3 separate regions of the Homo sapiens genome follow, and all the other regions are linked to region 3. The links are contacts of gene promoters, found by promoter capture Hi-C in human tissues and cell types (Jung and others, 2019). All regions are on one chromosome and are shown on one strand. Each heading gives the region's core, a stretch centred on a gene start or on the middle of the fragment in contact. The rest is flanking DNA. Distances are from core to core; before and after follow the strand shown. Region 1 overlaps RCAN2 (regulator of calcineurin 2). Region 2 overlaps RCAN2-DT (RCAN2 divergent transcript). Region 3 holds the start of RCAN2 (regulator of calcineurin 2).

Region 1 (4,485 bases), core at 66-2,565, 34 kb before region 3:
AATACAAAAAATTAGCTGGGCGTGGTGATGGGCGCCTGTAGTCCCAGCTACTCAGGAGGCTGAAGCAGGAGAATGGCGTGAACCCAAGGAGGTGGAGCTGGCAGTGAGCCGAGATTGCACCACTGCACTCCAGCCTGGGCAACAGAGCGAGATTCCGTTAAAAAAAAAAAAAGAAAGAAAGAAAGAAAGAAAAAGAAAAAGAAAAAAAAAAGGCCCTTTATCCAAAAAATTTTGTCCATGTTTCAGTAGTATAATAGTGGCTTTTACAACTAAGAATCTACATCTACAAGGGAAGGTTTAATCCATTTAGATACCCCATTCAAAGGTCAGAGAAATCTGAAATAAACTTTGGAAAGGTCTCCAAATGGAATATTTACTGTGATTGCCAAAAACATTTACACTAAGTTAAGTCTGTTTCTTAAAATGGGAAGCTGGAAAATGTTAATACATAGACAACCTCATTCCCCTATCATTTCAAATTGAGGAGTTGCTGCTTCATTCAAATTCTTACAACACACACATGGCAATACCACCATGGTATCAATGAGCAAAGAAGGACTCAGATGCCAACCAACTTACCTTCTCTAATATCTACTGTGAGACTTGGCTCACAGTTTAAGAAGGCTTTTTTAGAACATTCGTCAAGCTGCGGGAAGGCTGGAGGTAAAATGGAGTTTGTATTGTTTTGAGAAAGGCAAATTATATTTATGGCAGAATAGAGGAAAAGGAAACTTTTAGGAGTTTAAGACATCTGCTTCCTAGCCTAAGGGGCATTTCCTACAATCCATATTAACACCATTTGTTTTGCTAGATAGACCTGTGAGTCACAGAGGACTCAATTTGATTCAACATATTCTCATCTACAACCCTGTCAGATGTATCTCTAAAGTTAGTTGATAATAGAATGGGATTTTCTTATCCTGGTACACATGCCAAAAATAGAGCCAACTAAACATTTCCAAAAACTTCAAAACACCAACCACAAATGAACAACAGGATTACTTGGAGATAATGCCATATCTCCCCATGTTTTAGGAACAGAAAAAGGCAGCTTACCTTGCTCTCTTCTCCTTCAAACACTGACTGGTGAACATTGCACGCAAACAACGAGTTGGGGAGGTCATTGAAGTCAGTGATTGCTTGAAAGGCTTCTTCTGCAAAACAACGAGTGACAGCCCAGTCCCTGTCTATGCAGCACAGTAAGAAAAGTCCTCCATCTTCAGGGACGTGTCCCTGCTGCCCTGGGCTCCTCATTCCGATGAAGTATGATTCTCCCCTCATTCCTGGGGATACAAAGATGAGCATGTGTTACTGCAGAACAAATTCCTTAAAACTCAGTTTTCGGGTCACAGTTTTGTATTGTCAGGGGCAGAACAGTGGAGTACGATTAGGAGCAGAGGCAGGGGATATTGGAAGGGAGAAGATCTGCAAGTTCACATGGTTCCCTTGATCCCTGAACCAGAATTTCCCATACAGCTCTGCTCTGGGGCAAGAACCGAGTCAGTACTATGGTTTTTTAAAACAAACAGACAAACAAATAGGTATAGGAAATGGAGATCACCACCACTACTACCAATGTCTATCGTGTATTGAGTTCCAGGCACTATTCTAAATGATTTATATAAATTTAGAACATCAATTACATACATTAACTACCTTATTTAATCTCCACAATAGTCTATAAGGTTGGTACCAATATTTTCCCCAATTTACAGATGGGAAAACAGGAAGAAAGCAATTAAGTAACTTTTACAAGACCACTGACAAAATGGCAGGGCTAGGATTCAAACTCAGGGAAACTGGCACCAGAGCTCACTCTCCTATGCCACAGGAATGAAGCAGATCAAAATAAGTAGAAGCCTATATTTAAGAAAGTATGATCTACTTCATCAGCACCTGAATCCTGATCATGATAACTCTAACAGGTAATAGTTCATCCTGTGAGAGTACAGTGAGAGTAAACACACCACACACACACACCTCCCAGATATTTCCTCTTCTGACTGAGATAATTACTTCAAGTCATTTGTGAACCAGGTCCAGATCCTAAAAAAATCAGTGCTATCTTGATCAATCCATGGTGCACAGGTCCCCGTCCCTCCTTGCCTTGTAAGGCTTTCCAGTATTGATTTCACCTAGCTGTGTTCAACCCTTCTATTATTTTTTCACCCCTTATATTTGCAGTTTGCCTAACTGCAGAGTTTTTCCATTTTTTTGATACTGGTACATAATTTAGTGGATTAGGTCAGTATCCCCATATAGTCCAAGGCTGGTATCTACTTTCTTCTTTTGTACCGATTTTCATGACTGTGATACTATTCTGCTCAAAGCTCAATAGTTAAGAGGCTCGGAAAGTGAAATAACTTGCTCATGGTTACGCAAGTAAGACTGACTGAAAATTATGACATGGCTACTGAATCATCTTCAGGAAGCTCCATGTTCTTCAGTCCCATCATCACAGATGCTCAGAGCAAAGGACAGAAAGGTGGGTACCACTAAACATCAATCTGCTCTCATGAAGTTTAGCTAGATACAAATTCCAGATCCCCAGACAAAATATCAGTTTCTGCTTATCTCTCTCTTGAACTGTGAAATAAACCCTTGAACCTCATAGTGATGAGGTTATGTTTTTTATTTTCATTTTTCCTAGAAAAGCCCCAATGAGAGTTGGTAAGCAGCATTTTCTGGCAATAATGCATTACATATAAAATCTTAAGCCCGGTTGAGGTAGGAGCCAAAAATTAAATAGTTTGAGGTGATATCTCTAAAATCAAATCATCAAAATTGTGGTAAGTAAAAATTTCTATATAAAATATAATAAAACAATTCTTGCACTCCAAAGTTCTTCAAACTCCAATTAGCGCATTTCCATATTTAAATCAACAAAATACTTATTTTAAATAAAAATATGGTACATGTTTTATTAAATAATCTAAAATATATGAATATTTTTAACTAGAAGGAAAAACATGTAATAGCATTAATATAAAGGGAATTGAACTGCTAGACAACTTCAATGAAACATGTGCATGTATTTTCTTTCATATTTATTTATACTGTTGCTTGAATATTTTAGCATAAAACACCTAATTACCGTCATTTATTAGAGTATCAATTGTTTTAATAGTAAAAATATTTAGTAAAAGCATCATCAAAACACTAGCATTTTCATTAATAGTTTACAGGAAAACGCGCGCGCACGTGTGTGTGTGTGTGATGGAGTTTTGCTCTTGTCGCCCAGGCTGGAGCGCAATGGCGCAATCTTGGCTCACTGCAACCTCCACCTCCCGGGTTCAAGTGATTCTCCTGCCTCAGCCTGGGCCTTCCAAGTAGCTGAGATTACAGGCACGTGCTACCACGCCCGGTTAGTTTTTGTATTTTTAGTAGACACAGGGTTTCACCACGTTGGCCAGGCTGGTCTCGAACTCCTGACCTCAGGTGATCCACCCACCTGGGCCTCCCAAAGCGTTGGGATTTCAGGCATGAGCCACTGCACACAGCCAGGAAACTCTTTTGATAATGAAGTCATAATCATTCAGCAGCATACAAATAGATGCTGTGTCAATTTGAATTTTATTTTTAATCTCATCCCTCTTATTTAAAATATTTTAAGTGAATCAAAACATTATAAAACACTCTTAGATGTGTTGTAAGAATGTTTCAATTATTATTTTTCCAAAAAAAATCTAAAATCCATTGCCGAACAAATTAATTAAATAGATCAAATTTTAAGCTTAACTCAGGACTCATTTTAATCTACTCAAATAGCCTTAATTTCTATCCTAAGCTGTAACAATATTATCTTCATGAGATTTTATTTTAAGCTCATTACTTTCAGTAAAGATTTAAGGGTGAATGCATTTTTGGCAAACAACCTACTTTACTTACATGGAGAAATACTTTAGAAGTCAGAGCTTTGAACAAAGAAATTCTAATTTCTCTTTCTAGTTTCATTACTAACTCACCCCATAATTTGGAGAAGCCAAGTGATCATTCTGGAACTCAGTTTATCCTTGTAAAACAACAACAAAACAACATTGAACTGCCTCCTTCTGCAGAGTAAGGGGAGGCAGGGGAATGAAACAGGAGCGGAAGACGTGATCAAAATCAGTATTAACCACTACATAAAAGAATATGTAATATGCAGTTTTGCAATACTGTAATATACAGTATTGCAATTTTTACTGCATGAACTATGCAGTAAAAACACATCGTGATAATTTCAGAGCAAGGCAATTATGCTTCAGTATTGCCCAAATAAACAGAAGGAAATTCTGAAGATTAAGAGAACTTCCCAATAAAGAAGTATAAAGGTCCCACAGCTCAAGTTAACTGGTTTGTCTTTGTTTCCTCTGTTGTTGTTTTTTTTTTCCACTTTTTCAGAGAGGGTCTTGCTCTGTTGCCCAAGCTGGAGTGCAGTAGCACAATCATAACTCACTGCAACCTCCAACTCCTGGGTTCAAAGTGATCCTTCCACCTCAGCCT
Region 2 (4,253 bases), core at 1,685-4,184, 35 kb after region 3:
ATGGTGTGTATGCACCACATTTTCTTTATCCAGTCTACTATTGATGGACATTTAGGTTGATTCCATGTCTTTGCTATTGTGAATAGTGCTGCAATGAACGTACATGTGCATGTGTCTTTATAATAGAATGGTTTATATTCCTTTGGGTATATACCAAGTAATGGGATTACTGAGTCAAATGGTATTTCTGTCTTTAGGTCTTTGAGGAATTGCCACACTGTCTTCCACAATGGCTGAACTAATTTACACTCCCACCAACAGTGTATAAGTGTGGCATAGGGTTATCTTTCTCTTTTCCCTTTGTACCAAAGCCTCATCTTTTATGTTATAACAGTATTTCTCAAACTGCATATTGATGTCAATAAGTGCACAGAGAAAAAAAAATAAAACAAAATTTTGAAAATATGTTCAGAAAACATTGGAATACATGTAGTATGTGTTTCTCTGCTTCAGAACTTCTCAAGACCTTAATATGTTAGTGCTCATGGACTGGTTCCCAAGTGTATTTGACCACAGGACCTTTTCTCTCTCTCTCTTTTTTTTTTTTTTTTTTTTGAGGAATACATCTGTAACCATCTTATGTCTACTGGAACATGCTTTTGAAAATACTGCCCATTTCAACGTTAGTTTCTTGGAGACCCTAAAGTCTCAGAATTCCCGAGTTTTGTAGAATATACGATAGTATCTGCATATATGACTATAAACCTTGTGACTAACTTATAACTTAAGAAAATCCTTCCAAAATGTACTAAATAGATTTCTATTAGCATAAGTCAAATAAATATATACAGTGCTTGTTAAGGAAATCTTCAACAACAAATCTAGATCTTTCCATAACTGGTCCTTTCCTATCACTCAGGAATTCTCTGACCATCCAATCTCAGCCTCTTTTTGCCTCCTTCACATTCCTTGAATCAATTTTTATTACATAACCCTGTTTAATTTTCCTCATAGTATTTATCAGTATCTGAAATCATTTTACTGTTTTGTCTTGACTTAGAATCTAAGACGCATGAAAGTTGAGTCATTTGTATTTCCAACAGCTACTATGGTGCCAAGTACATATAGAATAGAAAGTTATTTCATTCATTCATGTATTCATTCATTCAACAAATATTTACTGAAAATTTCCCATGTGCCCAAAACCATTCTAGTTCTAGATCCAGCAATGAGTAAAACAGACATCAGTTTACTCCTCGAATTGTGTGTACATTAGATTTGTTTTATGTAAACAAGACTTTGCATTCCCTTTGAAGGTGGCATGTTTTAAACCAGTGTAGTTATTATTTAAAATTCAAATTATTAATAACTAATTTACCTAATTTTGTAAACATAAATTTTCATATGGCTTGTTTTTCTGTAGTTTGTAGTTATTTGTTTAAAATCAAAGAGCCAAAAATTTTATGTGTATCATCTCTTTTAATCCTGACAACAGACCTGCAGAGTGGAGACTATTACCTCCATTTGATACATGAGGAAAGTGGGGTTATAGAAATAACTTTCCCAAGACACTTAACTGGTAGATAGGTAATATCTGAATATAAGTCCAGTAGATTTGAAATCAAAGCCCACATCCTTTTCTACCACATCCACTGCCTACTTTGATATTAGTATAACCCAACAGTTATTAATAGAGAAAAAAGCAAGAAGCACCAAAAAAATGCCTTAAGTCAATGGGTCCCTTGTGTTGCATTTTGTGACTGTGTGAATTCCCTCTGATTCTTTGCATTTGGACTCCATTTTGAAGTTCTGGGCAATCCATCTTATTACCTCCCAGCGATCCATCAGGACCACAGGCAGGTGTCTGCACCACCTCAGAGGTAGTGACTTCTATATTTCTGACAGTTACTGTCTTCCCGGAGAATAAGGCCATGTGGTATATTTTGTTGCAAGGATGCTGCAAAGGGAAGATAAAACCAACAAAGGAGCTGAAAGAAATCAAAGAAAAGAGGACAATAAGGAGAATAAAGACAAGTTCAAAATAAGCTAAATTTAGAAATCGCTTGAAGCTCCATTGTTCGAGTTACAAAACTTGTCTTGCTTTCCAGCAGTCCAAGTTCTGCTGACTTGATGTGTGACCTTACCAGGTCTCCTTGCCCTTCTCGGTGTCAAGTTTATGACACTATGGAGGGTGAAACCAGTCCTGGGCTGCTGAACTCTGGCTTCTTTAATGTGGGATAATGAACCTGGTATGTTTACATAATTGTTATTTGGGATTTTTCCATTATATACAGCCAAATATAATTCTAATTGATACAATCAGTGTATGTTTTTAGTATTTAAAAAGCTACATTTGAAAAAATCCTTGAGAATTGACAAAATATTCAAAGAATTTCAAAAGTGGCAGTATAAATACTTATGAGGAAAAGAATACTAAGGAAGAAGGAAAGAAGAGAGGAGAAGGAGGGAGGTTGATCAGACTGAGGATGAGGAAGAAGGAGGAGGAGAAAAAGGAAGAGAAGAAGGGGGAGGGGGGAGGGAAGTGGAAGAGGAAGGAGGAATTAGATAAAGAAGAAGATAAAGAAGAAGGAGAAGAAAAAGAAGAAGGAGAAGAAGAAAAGAAGAAGAAGAAAAGAGGAAGGAGAATAAGAAGAAGAATAAAGAAAAGGAGGAAGAGAGTGGAGAAAGGGGAGGAACAATAACAGCAAGAAAAGGACAAGAAGGAAAAGATTCCATTCAAATGTAGACTGAAACTCCTTCACTGACATTTAAATCATATTTGCCAAAATCTTGGTAACTGTGGAGCTCTCCTTATTTATAGAATACAATTTTTCCCAAAGATTTCATTATTACATTCTTCTAGCATTCCCATCCAAATCCATAAAACTAAGGCTCAAAGTTCCTACTGCATATATTAGATTGGTGCAAAATTAATTATTTTTAATGGCAAAAACTGCAATTACTTTTGCACCAAGCTAACAATGAGCCAGTAACATTTTTCTCTTTTAAGCTAACTTGATCAAACCCAGAGAGGTCATTCATTAACTCAATTTTATCAATTAATACTAATCTAAGTATTCTGGTAATGTTTACAAATGAACCTTCTTTTCACTTTCCTCACTGAGGCCAAAATCTTCCTGGGGTTTGTATCTGACTTCAATATTTTCTTCAAGCTTCATGTCAAAACTGTTTCTCTCTGTCCCTTTGATCCCTCCCATCTGAAATAGGTTGGCCCTACCCTGAGAGTCTACAGGTCCAATCCTATCCACCAAAGACTGGTTAGAAGGTGCTTGTGGAGGATGACGGCTATTCCCTAAAAGAAGACTATAAGGCTTGCCACACTGATACTTGGCTAGGGTGTATGACTTGCTTTGGCCAATGCAAGTGGGACAAAAAGAAAATGTGAGAAATAGAAAAGCTTCTGTTCACTCCCACTCCTTGATTAGAGAAACAGTCTCTGGCAGAAGGAGAGAAAATATGAAGGGAAAATAAAGAAGAGAGGTCACAGGGGAAAGAGGAGGCGGCATGACCTGAAGGGAACAGGAAGAGGACCCAGGTCAGTGTCTGAGGATGGCCCAGCCTCTATTTCATCAATATCTCCATTGGCCACAGCTGGGGACAAAAGGAGGAGCCATCGTAGTGCCCCAGGCTACACTTTGGGAGCCCTGTACTCAACTGCCACACTAGCTTTCCTTCCTGCTGGCACAGGATGAAGATTTTACTTCAGCAACAATGGCACTTTGCCTGTTTATCAGTAGGTGTGATCTTCATTTGAGCCCTGTATCTTTGTTTCAGCCAAGATCCACTTGCTTTTTGTGAATAATCCCCTACCTTATCCTCCACCACCTGCCAGCTGCCTCTACCACTCACAACACTCAGAGGCCCTCAGGACCCAGCAAGCTTGCAGGATAAAGCTAAATGGTAAGGCGAAGCCTTCCAGGCTTGGGTTTTGCATGGGCTAAACAAATTCAGCCCTAAACTGTCACCATGGTTGAATATCCTGCTGTCATTCTCACTATTTGTTAAGCCTGAGCTTGCTCCTCTGATGCTCAATCTTTTGGTTTAGCAGCTGTCTTCAGGTTCATGTTCCTACATGTGTCTCCCCTTCGGTAACTGACCCTTGGCTTCATTTGCAGGTTCCAGTGCCTAATATGACTACACAAAACCATTTCATTTCCCTTCATATTGCGGTCAGCTCAGTCCTGGATCAGCCATCCTTCTCCACCTGGCAGCCTTTTTGCCTTCTGCAGATGAGCTTTCTTTTTAGCACAAGAATTAGAGAGGAGCTAATCAACATTGAGCAATTCACAATC
Region 3 (3,908 bases), core at 48-2,547:
ATTTCCTAAAGCCTCCCCTCTGCATGATAAGTTGAGTGAAATTCTGGCTGAAGGGAGAGAGAAGTGTGAGCTGGAATGCTGTGACATCCCTTCATCTCCAATTGTGGAAAACTGTGGGAATGCATATTAAAGGAACCCCAGAAACTTTTGTTTTTACTAAACTGAGACTTAAAAAAACTTCATTTGGCAGTTGAACACCTCTATCCCATTGTAAGAAACAGGAAAGATTCAAAGCATGCATTCTGCTATAATTCATTTTGGGATAAGAAATAGGCAGAAGTACCTCGAAGAATAAATCATTAACTAAAAGGCAAACCGAGGCACCCTGGAAACCAGCGAGACCTGGAGGCGGCCGAGGGATCAGGCGGCTGGGATTTGCCTGTTCCCTCTGGTGACTTCTGGAGCGAAGCATCCCACAGGCAGGACGAACCCGGCACACTGCGCTCCGCTCCATTTCACTTTTCAAACTTGAAGTTATTTTTAGATGACCCAAGGCCGCTAATCCCAAGCAGGACAATTCTCAGCCCGCTGCACCTCAGTGCACCTACCCCCTCCCCAGCCTCTGCATTGGGAAGAAGGGATCTCTCGATCTTCTTTGCTCTCTGCATCCAGTTAGTCTCTTCTAGACCCTCTCTAAGCCTCAGTCCCGGGGATCACAGGCGTCATCCTCGCTCCTTCACTTATGCACCTGCTGCTGCTTCCAGGAAGGCAAACCCCCGGGCCACGGGCAGTGGGGAAGGGGCTCCTTTGGACCCGCGCCCCCTAGAGGGGGGTCGCGGGAGATCTCCGTCCCCACGGCCGCAGCCGGGACTGACCACAGATCTGGAGACAAACCCCACCCCCGCCACTGCCCCCACCCCCGCCACCGCCCCCGCCCCCGCCCCCGCCCCCGCCCTGCACCCAGACCCGGCCCGGAGACCAGATCCCCGCCGCGGACCCCCGGCACGACCCCGGGGCTGCTGTCAGCCCCGGCGGGACGGGGTGCCTGGGCGAGCCTGGCCGGCGCGGTTACATAACCGACCTGCTGGGCGTCCGCGATGCGCCGGCGGAGGCGGAGGCGGAGGCGGCGGCTGGGGCGTCTACGGGGGCCAGCTGCTAGCGCGCGGCGCTGCCTGCTCACCTGCCCGCCGGTGCGAGCGCGTGGGGGCGGCGCGGTGCCCGCGGGCCTTTGCGTGGGGCCGTACGCGGCGCGGCGCGCCCCGCCTCCCTCTCTCTGCCGCCGTGGGTCAGTGGGATTCTGCCTGCTGCCCGCTCCTCCCCGCAACCTCCGCCGCCGTCACCCGGGACAAAGCGGCTCCAGGGAGGGGCTGAGCCGGCGGCTCTCGCAGGAGCCGGCGGAGATGGGCGCGTCCCCAGCTCCGACTCATCGGGCCAACCTCCAATCAGACCCAGGGAAACCGAAAGCCCCTGTCTGGCCTCTTCTCATCTCCTCCCTCCTGACCCGGCGCCCTCCCCAGTCCCCTACCCACCGCACCTCCGGGGCTCTCACCCTGCCCTCAGCCCCGCACCCCCTCCTTTCCACTTCAGGTGCCCGGGAGGGCGCAGGAGCCTCCGGGCACCTGGCGTGGGAGCCTGGCTGCAGGAGTCCCGGCCTCAGCGGGAAGAGGCTCCTCGGGGTCCCATACTAAGCTGAGGGTGAGGGGGCAGCGACAGCCCAGAAGAAATGGTCAGAGAAGCAAACTGTGGTGGGGGAGTACTGGGAGAAAGACTCTTCTTACCAGATGTCTGAGCCCCCCGACTCTGGCTAACTGAGGAAATGTCGGGGAGCCCCTGGATGGTCCTCCCGGGCTTCTGCGCTTGGTGGGCGCTGGCGCCCTCTGGCTGGAGCCCTGCGCCCGGCCCAGCCCAGGCCGCTGAGGGTGCCCTGCGCGGGCTTCACAGCTTTGCCAGGATTTGCAGCCATCAGACCTGAGGACAGAAGGGTTCGGGCTGCAAGGAATCCTATTGTGTGAGAGCCATGACACAGTGAGTGGGAGGTTGGTATCCTACAGCAAACGGGACTGAAGGTGAATCGCAATCTAGGGTAGATCTGTTGCTCAACAAAGTTAACCCCAGTAGAAGTCTCTGCTTTACGGAATAAAGCAACTCAAATGGGTAAGGAAGCCTGTGGCTTACGGGTGGCACAGATAGGAACAGGACTGAGTCTCATGGCAAGAGAATGTGAATTATGCAAAAGATCATAGGAGAGTGCGGGAAATTAAAGGAAGGAGGTGTGCAGACCAATCTGAGGGAGGGAGTGAATAACATTTAAATCAGGTTTGTGTTCTGTCATCTTTCGAATTGCTGCATAAATAAGCCGTTTTCTTTTTGCTTTTTATGCCTTTTGATTTTCTGATAACAATATTACGATTGCACTGAAGCAGTCCATTCACAATCATTCTTCACTTACCCACACTACGTTGTTTTTTTCCAAAGTTGACATACAATCACGTTTTGTTTGTTTTCAACAAAAAAAGGTAGACGAGACGTTGGCTCTTCTCTCTGATTAATCTGCATTAACATAAACACAATTTCAGAATTGAAAATGACCTTAGGCTTCCCCTCGTTCAGCCTTCCCCTGGATGCATAAATCTGTAATTAGTCGTTGATTTAGATAATTGCCATTTGGGTTAGAATTGTCTGAAAGGGCATTCTTAAGTTGAGCAAAAACTTGCCTCCCTTTAATCATTAGTTCTCCCTTACTTTTTGAAGCCAAAGAAACCAAGTCAAATTCCTCTTCTAACTATCTTTAAAATATGTAAAAATAGCTAGCATGTCTAATGCACTCCAGGATCCCCTTTCTTTCCAAGTAAAGCATCCCCAACCCTTTAAACAAAATCTCACTTATTATTAGTGAGTACTTCCTAGAATCTTCGTCAAACTGATGACTTTCATCTTAACAGGGACTATTTATTATTTTGTGAATATACATTTACAAATAAAATTTTCAGCTTATAGAAGCAATATATTCATTGCAGAAATTTTGAAAAGTTGGAAAAACACAGGATTTAATCTGAGAACTAAATGAGGTAATACATGTAAAACACCTAAGCACAGTGCCTGGCACACAGTGATACTCAATATATGTTAGCTGTTACCAAAATCAACATAGCCATTTTCCTAACACCAAATATAGATATTGTTACTTTTCTAGATGCTGTTTCTGAGTTCTCATAGCCACATATTCCTCCTTCTACTGCTAAGAGAAATTCTGTGTTTGTCAGTTTGTGTGAAGAAGGAAGCATAATAAATGAGGAAAAAAATGAAAAGTGACAAACAGCCTCATGTTGTTTACCTTGAGAAGAACAAAATGTTACTAGCAAAACAAATGTTAATGGCAAGAAGAAAATACAGAGAGAAAAAGAGTTTATGGGATGGGGTCTGAGCTTGAAGAGGATTTTGGAGAGCAGGAGTGAGGCTAAAGGGTAGCTAATGTTAAGGATGGTGGTAAATAAGATCAGAATTTTGGTTTGCTAACATTTATTGAGCATTTAGTATATGCCACGCTCCAAGCCAATGAATTTTTATACATTAATTCATTTCACTTTCATGGCAACTCTATTAGATAGGTACTATAATTAACCTATAGTAAAGAAAGCACAGAAAGATTAAATAAATGACTTGCTGAAGCTAACAAGTGGAAAGCTGAATTCACACCTAGACAACCTGGCTTTGGAGTCCCCACTAGACTAGACTGCCTCTCAATGGTTGTATGTGACATTATAAATATAAACTTTTAGGTTCACAGGAAAGTTGAGCAGAAAGAACAGAAAACTCCCATATACTGCCTGCCCCCACATATGCATAGTCTCCCTGACTATCAAAGTCTGACACAGGAGTAATACAATGAATAAAGCTACATGAACACAACATTATCAACCAAAGTCCGTAGTTTACAGATCCACTCTTGGTGGTGTACTTTTTTGAGT

Evidence for each region. Contacts are between HindIII fragments. The study calls those that stand out against the background at their distance.
Region 1: a fragment that was not itself captured here is called in contact with the fragment with the promoter of RCAN2 in region 3 in 1 of the 25 tissues and cell types used here (hippocampus).
Region 2: a contact is called between a fragment that was not itself captured here and the fragment with the promoter of RCAN2 in region 3, in 1 of the 25 tissues and cell types used here (psoas muscle).

Annotation. Positions count from the first base shown.
Region 1 is chr6:46,455,696-46,460,180 of GRCh38, forward strand. RCAN2 (regulator of calcineurin 2) reads right to left here. Exons shown (of 5, transcript NM_001251974.2): 2 at 1,057-1,283. The coding sequence starts at 1,281. Among named protein-coding and RNA genes, the nearest start is that of RCAN2, 34 kb to the right of the region's middle. RefSeq lists enhancers at 2,778-3,278, 3,279-3,779. The HindIII fragment of the contact is 8,684 bases long and covers 1-4,485 here.
Region 2 is chr6:46,523,180-46,527,432 of GRCh38, forward strand. The region is part of intron 1 of RCAN2-DT (RCAN2 divergent transcript); the gene reads left to right. Among named protein-coding and RNA genes, the nearest start is that of RCAN2-DT, 33 kb to the left of the region's middle. The HindIII fragment of the contact is 3,073 bases long and covers 1,399-4,253 here.
Region 3 is chr6:46,490,152-46,494,059 of GRCh38, forward strand. RCAN2 (regulator of calcineurin 2) reads right to left here and starts at 1,298. Exons shown (of 5, transcript NM_001251974.2): 1 at 1,022-1,298. RCAN2-DT (RCAN2 divergent transcript) reads left to right here and starts at 1,901. Exons shown (of 3, transcript NR_125837.1): 1 at 1,901-1,976. RefSeq lists silencers at 1,261-1,350, 1,861-1,920. The HindIII fragment of the contact is 8,830 bases long and covers 1-3,908 here.